Linked DNA regions of Homo sapiens: all the other regions are linked to region 3. Evidence: promoter capture Hi-C in 16 types of primary human blood cells and fetal thymus (Javierre and others, 2016). All regions are on one chromosome and are shown on one strand. Each heading gives the region's core, a stretch centred on a gene start or on the middle of the fragment in contact. The rest is flanking DNA. Distances are from core to core; before and after follow the strand shown. Region 1 overlaps CD48 (CD48 molecule). Region 2 has its middle 4.5 kb from the start of IGSF8. Region 3 holds the start of NHLH1 (nescient helix-loop-helix 1).

Region 1 (3,655 bases), core at 877-3,376, 310 kb after region 3:
CAAACACATAGCACTGTATCTGTCACCGAGGAGATGGGGTGAGGAGGGAAGGGCCACGAGGGAGATGGGGGAGGCTGGTCTGGTTTGAAAGGCAAGCAGTCTGTGGTGGGCAGTTTTCTGAAGGGGAAGTGCATTCTGTAGTGACCCTTTCAGCTCCAGGCACATGAGGAGACTTAGAGGAGGGGACATTAAGCAAAAATCCCAGGTGTTATGTCAGTGGTGGGCCTGGGGGCGCCTACCTGCATATAGTGGACAACTCTGGTGAGAACACTGTGTCGATCTGATGGTTTTTTTGGATCCAGTGAAACGACTAGGAGTTGAAGACTTGCCCACACAGTCAATGGAAAAGAGGAGAGAGAATTCAGCTCCCTATGCGAGGCTTGTGGGGCAGGAAGGCTTCTTATGAGATAGAGCTGCATCCTTCCTTCTGCGAGAGCAAGCCTGAACCTATGTTTGCAGCAGACTTAAGGAGAGTGGTCCTCAGAGGGGTCAGAGCAAGGCAAGCCACTGGGAAGGAGGCAAAGGCTTGGCAGGGGAGCTGGAGCCCCAGGAAGCTTAGCATGGATGTTGGAATAAGGGTCAGAAGTAGCACAAATTGGCTCCTCAGCTGTGTTGACACACAGGAGCCGGTGGCTCCAGGCTCTCCCCTCTGTGTCTCCAGATTCCAGTTTCTCCCAGCTGATGGAGCAGGCACTGTCTGACAGATTTGGGACAACTTCAGGAATTCAGTTAATTGACAATTATATCAAATGTTTATTTTAAAAAATAATAAAACATTCACATAATGTTGTCACAATTTTGGGTGGGAAAAAAGCATGTGTATCTCTATATCTCTGTGTACTAGAAAACAACAAAGGGATATAAAATTAAATAATAACCAGTATTTAAAAGTTAACTTGAAAATCCTCGTTGATAATTCAGCAGCATGCTTCTGGTCAGCCTATACAGTCTCTGTCCTGGTGAGGAGCATGATCACCAACAGGCAAGATCTTCTGGCCTTGAAGTTTCGCTTGAGTTAAAAGAGCTCATCTCAGGTAAGTAACAGGCCAAGAATGGTGGGCACCGTGACCACTAGCCAACTTGCAATCCATTCTACTCCAAAGGACCGGGCTGAAAGAGCAAGAAAACCCTATATGCTTAGGTATCTTTATCTTGACTAATGTATTGAGAAGGGGCAAGTGTACTGGACACTGGTGTGGGAGCTCACAGAGCAGGGAAATTAATTTCTTCCCTGAATCCCATCCTATTTGGCTGGGACATTCTTTTCCTCAATCTCCCCAAACATAAAGTATAAAAAATGCAGAAATTCCTTAAATATCACTGGCTTACCTGGGCCCTGTGCTCAAAGGTTACCTCGACATATCTGTGGCCTGGGAAAGCATTGCTCCCCTACTCTGGACATCAACGAGGTAGGGTAGATCTTCAGGTACAGACAGATGACCACATGATACAATGCACAGCTGACTTTAGAGAGAAAAGGACCACTTCCTTTCCTTGTTTCTCTACCCCACTAAGTATCTGCACCAACTAGGAAGAAGAAGGGAAGAGAAAGGAAGACAGAAAAGGAAAGGAAAAGAAAAAGGATGGAAGGAAAGCTTAGATGCTGGGGTGGGGAAGGGCTGAGCTGGAGAAAATAAAAAAAAGGAATGAGTGATACAGTAGGGAAAGGAGTTTGAGGGGGCTTTCTAGGATAATTTCGGTGACTAAAAAGTGACAGATGGGTTTACCCTTCCAAAAAAAATGGATTTATTATTGCTTTTATCCTCTCTTCGGATGAACAGTCACACCCATTTTATAGAGGACAGGGAATGTGCGTCTTCCTTTTTCTGGATCTCAGGATGTGATATTGATATGAGGGTGGTGTTGGAACCACCAGCCAAATTGTGTTCTCATGGTCAGATACCACACTGTCACAGTGGGTCTGTGGTGGCAGAAGAGCAAGGCATATCAGGAGAGGCTGGTAGAGACAGGGCCAATTAGTTAGGAAGAATAAGGAAGAGCATACACAGTCTCCGTAGTCCACATGTGGGAGTAGAGATAAAGAAATCAGTGCAGTTAAGGAGGGTAGACAGAGCCCAGGAAGACCACAAAACAGCAACGTTCTCAGAGGCCAGAATCCCTGATGACTGGGCATGACAGGGGTCACAGGTGAATGTGAGCACCTCAGGTCTGAGTTATTCTAGAAGAATGTGTACGCTAGGGCTCAGGGATCTGACTTCAGGATTGTGGAGGGTATCTGACTCTGGTATTTCCCAGAGTGCTGGAGATATTGATCCAAGTTTATTAAGGGTCCCCAAAACTCTAAGAGACTGCGTCTCATTTAGCTCCCGCTTACTAAGGACTTGTCAGCCACTGTGATAGGCAGTTACGTGTCTTGTCTCATTGAATCCTTAGCACGAGATAGGAACTGTTATTTTGTCCTTTATTTAGGAAGAACATGACTTGGGGAAGCTAAGTAACTTGTTTAGCTAGTAAGTGACAGTCCTAGAAGTGACCCCAGGTATGACTGACTCTAAAACCCATGGCCTTAGCTGTCCCATGCTAGCACCAGTGTAGGCCTGATCTAGAGCCAGGTGTGACACTCATGAGTGGATCCTCCCAGGAGACAGGGGAATCTGGCTTCCTAAGTTCATCTAGGAACATCAGGCTGGGGAGGAGAAGCTTCGCCTGAGGCTCAGGCTCTCACGCCTCCTCGACGGCCTCTCTCAGGCCCGTCTCCTCAGTCCCTCTTTCCCTGGCTGACTTTGGCGGTCTAATGACCTCGGTCCCTCTTTCCTTGGCTGACTTCGGCTGTCTAATGAAGCCCCTCTAGACAGCTGCTCGCCCACTTGCCCTTCCTTCTCCCTGCTCACCCTGATGTTTCAGTCTACTCTATGATGACCCTGGCCTCAGATGTTAGGACTATGCTTTGTTAGAGCGGGAGAGGGAAGAGGAGTATCAGAGATCTCTCCCAAACGTCCTTTGCAGGTGAGAACACTGAGCCCCCACGAAGTTGAGGTAAGCTGGCTGGGAGGTGGTGGTAGAGCTGGTGGCAGAACCCACGTCTCCCAGCTCTCCCAGACACCTTAGGGATTCACCACCACACTGTGCAAGGAGGCTGAATAGGACCCCCAGCCTTTCTTTGTTCAAAACAACTCCAGTTACCCTGTGCCCCCCTCAGCTCCCAGGGATCCTTCTTACCCAGGGTACAGGGTGGACTGAGGCAGACCGTGCCATTCTTGCTGCTCACAGAATTGCTGACTTGGCAAGTATAACACCTGGAGTAATTATGTGGCATAAGGGTGGTTTCAAGCACACTGTTCTGGAGCTCCTTTGGGAAGGGCCTTTTGTCCCCATACCAGGTGTAGTTTACAGACTCGCCAGGTATCACACATGACAGTTTCAGATAACAGTTGTCATCCATGTCTTCTATCTTCTCAATTTTGATGACAGGCTTGGGTACAGGGTCTGAAAGTGAGGAGGATGTTATAAGATGAGACAGTGAGGCATTCATGCTGTGAAGGTTTAGCCAACAAAGAACAAAGGGATCCAGGGAAGGGGCCTGAATGCCCCAGGAGGCAGAGTCATGAAGAAGAAGTTCTACAGAGGGAGCCAGTGAGCAGCCTTGACCTCCTGAGGCCTCACAGACTCACTGCAAGAGCGGCTTCTAGGCAGT
Region 2 (3,265 bases), core at 313-2,812, 260 kb before region 3:
TGCAGAGAGACCTGGCAGGTATGCAGTAGTGACCATGAGGGACCCTGATGCCCGGCTGGGCTGTGTTGTCACTGCCATCACCAGCTTCCCACCTGCCCTCCATGTACTACCCCAGGCATGGGCCTGCATCCGACACCCGTCCTGTTTCACATGAAACAGGTCTCATTTCACCTCAAGATGACATATACACAAGACACCAAGGTGACACTGAGGTGTCATGAGTATTGTTAAAGATAATTGAGACCCACGCTCTGCCCAAAAGCAGTTTATAATCCAGCTGAGATGTGACACACCACAGTCACAACCAAGCAGACAGCTCTCAGAGAGGAGCACGTTCAAAGACAGGACCATTCACATATGCTGACCTGTGTCAGGCACTAAATGTGATCTCATTTATCCTCATGTGCTATTATTATCCCTGTGAGAAAACTGAGGCATAGAAAAGTTAAGAAACTTGTCCAAGGTTAATGCATTAGTTACTGTCCACACAGGGATTCGAAATGGATCGCCTCACTGTGGAGCCTGTGCTTCTAACTCCTGTTATGTTGCTGCTTAAAGACAAACGTCACTAGGGACACAGTTAAATATGGGCTTAGCACACATGAGTATACACCAAGCTGTAGACACAGATACTGCCGTGGGGACAAAGTGACAAATACATCAAATACATAAGCACACATGCTCGTCAGACTGTCAGACATATAGAAATGGCACAAGCATACACATAGGACTCAGCTCTCTCTCTTTTAAATGTGTATCAACCGTAGCTTTGTGGGGAGCTAAGGATCACACACAAGAATGTCCTGTGATTTGTGTGTGTTTATAAAGCATTGGCCCATACTGCCCTGATGAGCTATATTTTCCCACCCTCCCAGAAGGGAAGATTCTCTCTGCTGAGTTGCTGAGAGGCTCAAGCAGAGTCAGAGACAGAAGTAGTGCAGAAACCTACCCTCGCCCTGATAACAAACTCATTCAGAGACACACTGAAACAGAAGTGCACACACAAAGATAAACACAGAGACATTATGCACACCCAAACACCAAACACACTCACAGAACCACAAAGCCATCTCCCCCCCGACACACACACACACATTCGCTTTCCACCCTCTCCCTCCCCTCTTTTCTCCCTGAGCCAGGCATCTGCACCTTCATGGTGAACTGTGTGTGTGTGTGTGTGTGTGTGTGTGTGTGTGTGTGTGTGTGTCTACTCTCTGAACCCTCCTCTTTCCCTGGCTAGGCCCACACTCCTGCCCCCATTCTTGAACCCTATGCCAAGGGGAGCAGCACAGCTGTTCAGGAATAGCAGAGCCGCGATGCCACTGGGGCTTTGGCACGACCTGGCCCTGACTCCTGAGGGGGCCCTGCCAGTTCTGAACCAAGGATTCGTGCCAGCTGCCACCCACGCTCAAATGCCACACATGGATTCCTCAGAGCTGGAATCCCCTCGGTCTCCCTTCTGACCTCCTGACAAGTTCTTTGTTCCCCAGTCCCATCGGGTGGGTGCTGGGAGCCTGGGCTCCGCCCCAGATGCTCACCCATCCCACTTCTCCATTCCCAGTCTGCTAAGAGGGAACTGACAGCTCAGATATATGTCTGGAGGGTAGCGTGGGACTGAAGCAACCCCCACTGTGTGATATTACTTCTTCTCTACCCTGAGCAGCCTAGGGTGGGGTGGGGGTCAGCCAAGGGCAGGAGATGGCAGTGGTTTGGTTAGACAGAGGTTTGTGGGCTGAGTGTTGTAGATGAGCCTCAGGGGGCAGGAGGTGGGTAGCACCAGGTGACTGCCAGTCATTTACGAGTTTGTCTCCACCCAGCTCTGAGTGGGGTGAGAAGGGAACAATTACTAATACCTACAGAGCACCTACTTCATGCTGGGCACCGTTGCACACACTCTGTGCACATTCATTCATTCAGCTTTCACAACAACCCCATGAGGTGAATACTACGAGTATCTCTATTTTACAGCTGGGAGACAGAAGCACAGAAAGCTCATATAATTTACCCGAGGTCACACAGCTAGCAAATGGTAGCACCCAGATGCAAATGCAAGCTACCTGATGCCCAAACTTCAGTTTCCCAAACATTCTTCTTCCCTTCTTCCTCCTGTTTCCCTAGCCTGCCCACATTGATTCATACATACATGTGCATATATTCAGGCACACACATGCATATCTGGTGCCTATGCAACCTTCTGAAATAACTTTTTCCACTACACAGCTCCAGCTTCCAGCACATAGTGAGTGTTCAATAAATATGTGTTGAATGGATGAATGCAGAATTGAAGGCCCAGGGAACAATGAGCGTTGTGTGTGTGGTGGTATGGGGAAAGAGGGAGGGGAAAGGAGGGATTTCACACACACACACACACACACACACAGACACACACATACACAGCCCTCTGCTGTGAATAATGTCAAAGACTCACTTCTAACTCTGGGGTCCCAGCCCTTCACAGCTACCTGGGTGGGAAAAGAGCAATGTAACCAGGCTTTACAGGATTCTCTGAAGTGGAAGAAGTCTCAACTCTCTCTTCCAATCAGAACAGAGGACAGGAGATGCAGAGAGAGCTCTGGAAGAGGACTCGAGGCACACAGCCACCTGGGCCTTCCAGCCAGGCACAGCTCATCCTGTGTTTTCACCTCTCCCTGCCCCATGCCTGCCGCGCTGCAGGCTCTCCCCTGGCTCCCTCGGGACAGTCCCTGCTTCCTCTGCTTGTCCACCTGGACTCTCCAGGAACCCGGCACCCCTTGGTTATTTTGGCTGAAGAGTAGACAATTCTCCTTTTCCCTGTTCCAACTGAAACAAGGGTGGAATTTTTCCAAAGGCTCTCTATTAGGAAAGTGAAGGGAAAACAAAGCCAGAAATAAAGACTCTGAAAAAACAAAGAAACAGATGGAACAGTGGGGGTGACCGAGCTGGCCATGGGAGAGAGCGGGGGCCCAGAGTTTTGATGCTAACGCGACCCACCCCCTTGCTCCCACTGCACCCTGTTCTCAGCTCCTTGGTAGAGTTTCCCACTCTGCATTGTAATTACAGTGCTTGTTTATATCTGCCTCTCCATCCTGGCTGTGAGCTTCTCAAAGCCACTGTTAACTCTTTTTTGCCTTTCCCCAAAGCCTACAGAGTTTCCTGGCAAGGAGTAGAAGCTCAACAGACATTTGCTGTGTGACTGAGGAAGTGAGGACATGCCGAGTGACAAGAGAAGGAATCTGGGCCCTTCCTCTCTTGTGGTCATGTCACCTCCACAGTGGACACTGTTAGT
Region 3 (3,243 bases), core at 706-3,205:
CTATGTCTTTCCCATGTCTGTTACCCAATGACTCTGGTTTCTCATTTTTTTCTCTCCCTGAGTCTCGGTATCTTCCCGTGTCTTTCTCGTCGTTTCCCTCCGCTTCCCCTGTCTCTGTTCATCTCCCCTTCTTTCTGTATCTCTCATCTCCCCCATGGCACTCTCTCCTGAGTCTCTTGGTCTCCCAATTTCTTGGATGGGGTGGAGGGCAGGAGAGTGGAGGAGGTAGAATTGTTGTTGCTGGGGGCTCATTAGGTGGAGATTGGTTTTTAATCAGCACCATGGCAATGATGATGCAAGAACTGAGATGCCACCTGATCCCCTGCCCCCCAGCCCCCCTCCTCAAGCCTCCTTTCCCCTCCAGCTCAGCCCATCTGCTGGCGCCTGGGCACCTGTCTGGGCCTGCCCAGGTGGGAGTTGGCACCTCCCAGACTCAGGGATGGGGGCAGGTGGGGGAGCTTGGGGAGGAATTATGGGACCCCCTTAGGGAATGCTTCACCCTGGAGAAAGCCCAGAAAAGGTTGACCAGCAACAGGGAAATGGCAAGTCCCTCCAGCCTGAAGGTGGGATGTGCTCCTACTAAGCTCTAGGCCCACTACACATATTATCTCCCTTAATTTCCATGGCAACCTAAGAAGCAGCTATAATCAACCCCATTTTACAGGAAAAGAGGTCCAGGCTCAAAAGGTTGTTATTTGTCCAAGGTCACACAGCTGACAGAGCCTTTTTCACTGTACCACACTACCTCTGGAGTCCTCTCCAGTCATGGTTCTTTTGAATACTCTCAAAGGTTCAGAGAAGACATCCAACAGCTGAGTGGGGAGAGAACTTCAGACACTGAAACCCTCTATGCACTGTCTCTCTATGCACTCTGGTCCCTGTGCTGCCCCTCCTCAATCCTGCCACTCGGCAACACACACATACACACACACACTCACACTTACATTCACATTCACACACACTTGCATATACATGCTGGAGGCTGCTGAGCTATTGATGGGAGCTTAATCAGTGCCCATTTGCATATAATTTTGTGTCTGGTTTTCTTATTGCTGATTTGATGCCCTCAAAACACACTCAGAGCCTGCCTAGGCTGCCCTGCCCTCCTCTCCCAGTGTCCTTCCAATCCTGGTTCTTCCTGTCTTGGCACTCCTCCACTCCTCTCCTTTTAGCCCTTACCTCTTTCTTCCTAAGAGCCCTCTAATTCCCAGTGGGTCAGGTTGGGCTGGCCAGCCTAGAAAAACTCCTTGTGGGGTCTGTGTCCCAAATTTGATCCTGCTCCTCCCCTTGGTGATGGGTTAGGTAGGAAGATAGCGGGTGGGGTAAGAGGGTATGGGGGTGATTGAGTCCCAGGGTGATGAGGGTAGGGGCCTGAACAGTTGCTACAGGCAGGCTGGCAAGCAGTGGGTACCAGCTTTATGAAGGATAAGAGCTTGAGGGCCAGGACCCTAGGGTCCTCTTCTGCATTTTAGTGCTACCCACTTGCTCTTTTCTCGGTTTCCCTGTTAGTACCTTGAAGAGTCTCCCTCTCAGGAAAAAAGAGACACCAGGAAGGGGCTGTCCAAGTCACGCTGGGACTCCGAATGGGGCCATGGCACTTAACCATAGCTTGCTGGGAGCCTCTGCCCTGCTGCCTCTGGTGTGGGAGACTGAGGGGGTTCATCTGTGGTCCTGCCCTGGCTCTCGCCCCAGCCCCACCCCTTCCCCAGCTCTCCATTTCTTGCTTATGAAATATGCATGGAGAACAGATGTCCCTGCTCCCCCGCTCCCCGCCCCCACCCAGGGCCAGCCCCCGCCCCCAGCTCCCGAGGGGTTCCCAGATCCCTCTGCCAATGGCTGCCTGGCCTGGCTGTTTAATATTGATGAGGGGGGGGTGGGCCTGGGCCAGCCAATGGAGAGCTGGGGGTGTGTGTGTGTATCTCCATATATATACATAGGGCTGGGCCAGCTCAGGTGTGTGTGTCTGAGGGTGTGTGTGTGAGTGTGGCTGGCCCCAGTACCTGGCCAAGCCCACCACTTCCACCTGGGCCCTACACCCCCACAATGTGTACCCCTCTTATCTGCCCTGGAGCCTGTACAGCCATGCCACGCTACCCCTGAGAGTCTAGAAAGCTGGTCACTAACTTTGCAGACGGATGAGCCTTGAGCACCCAGAGGAGACTGGGGCTGTCAACGCTGCCCCTTGTCCTGCCGGCTTGGATCCCCTGACAGGGTCCTTCTAGGTAAAGGGGAAACCATGGGCGGGGAGGGATGGGCGTGTCCCTCCCATTCTCTGGCTCAAGCCCCTTCCTAGAGCCTCCCTCTAGTTCTCTCCCTTGTGCGCTGTGTCTCTCCCTGTCTCCGCGTGTCCCTCTTCTCCACTCCTCCCCTTCGACTCTTTGTGCCTATCTATCCTCAGTTGGGTTAGGGCTGGCAGAAGTGGGGTGGGAAGTCCTGTCCTGCAGGCTTGGAATTGCTGCTCCCCTGATCCTTGGACCCTGGAACTTTGAGACCAGAAGTGGATTTGGGGGTGAGGACTTGATGGGTAAATAGAAGCTGCTGCCGGGACTGGAACTGGGGAGGACAATGGGGCCAGGTGGAGATGAGACTGGGGCCAGATGGGGAGCACGGAGAGGGGAAGGAAGGGCATGGCAAAGTGATGAGGGATGAAGGAACATAGGGACCGGGCAGAGAGAATTAGCCTGTGATAGATGTGATAAATGTGTTGGGAACTCCGCAGCTGAACTCCTGCTCCCAGCCCCAGCATGGGGGGTGGGGAGTTGGGGGCACTAAACATGTACTGGGAGGTGCTGACTTTGGGGCCTCCCACACTATTGCCATCCCCCCATAGTTCATTTGAACCCCAGAATATGGAATGTGTTCTCAATTTCAGCACTAACCACCTTCTGTTTCCTGTTAAGATTGTGTGTGTACTTGTCATCAGATGTGGATGACTTTGCATCCCTCCAGAGCTTCATAGCTGTTTGTTGGCTTGACTTGAACCTATCTTCTGTGTGGTGGGGTGGGGCAAGGCTTGGGAGGATCCTAACCCCTTTGAGAGTATCTATCAGACAGGAAAGCCAGGGCTGGGGAGGAAGGGGAGATAGTGATGGTGCAGGCACCTTGGTGCTTCTGTTTCTAATCATTCTTAGTTGAGCTGATGGTGAGTGGCCCACTGTTCCCCTTTAACACTGCACACAAGCAAAGCCCTTTCCCCAGCTTTTCCCAGGCCATGTTTGTGCTGCCTTGCCCTGATCTCCTCTG

Evidence for each region. The method cuts DNA at HindIII sites, captures the fragments that hold promoters and counts their contacts. A CHiCAGO score of 5 or more calls a contact.
Region 1: a fragment that was not itself captured here is called in contact with the fragment with the promoter of NHLH1 in region 3 in 1 of 17 cell types (naive B cells); the score reaches 5.5 in naive B cells.
Region 2: a contact is called between a fragment that was not itself captured here and the fragment with the promoter of NHLH1 in region 3, in 7 of 17 cell types (erythroblasts, M0 macrophages, naive CD4 T cells and 4 more). The highest score is 6.8, in erythroblasts.

The regions. Positions count from the first base shown.
Region 1 is chr1:160,678,022-160,681,676 of GRCh38, forward strand. CD48 (CD48 molecule) reads right to left here. Exons shown (of 4, transcript NM_001778.4): 3 at 3,181-3,447; 4 at 725-1,110. The coding sequence ends at 1,031. Among named protein-coding and RNA genes, the nearest start is that of CD48, 32 kb to the right of the region's middle. RefSeq lists an enhancer at 3,413-3,502. The HindIII fragment of the contact is 1,066 bases long and covers 1,594-2,659 here.
Region 2 is chr1:160,101,528-160,104,792 of GRCh38, forward strand. No RefSeq gene overlaps it. Among named protein-coding and RNA genes, the nearest start is that of IGSF8, 4.5 kb to the left of the region's middle. The HindIII fragment of the contact is 5,335 bases long and covers 1-3,265 here.
Region 3 is chr1:160,365,116-160,368,358 of GRCh38, forward strand. It overlaps NHLH1 (nescient helix-loop-helix 1), which reads left to right and starts at 1,956. Exons shown (of 2, transcript NM_005598.4): 1 at 1,956-2,222. The HindIII fragment of the contact is 14,453 bases long and covers 1-3,243 here.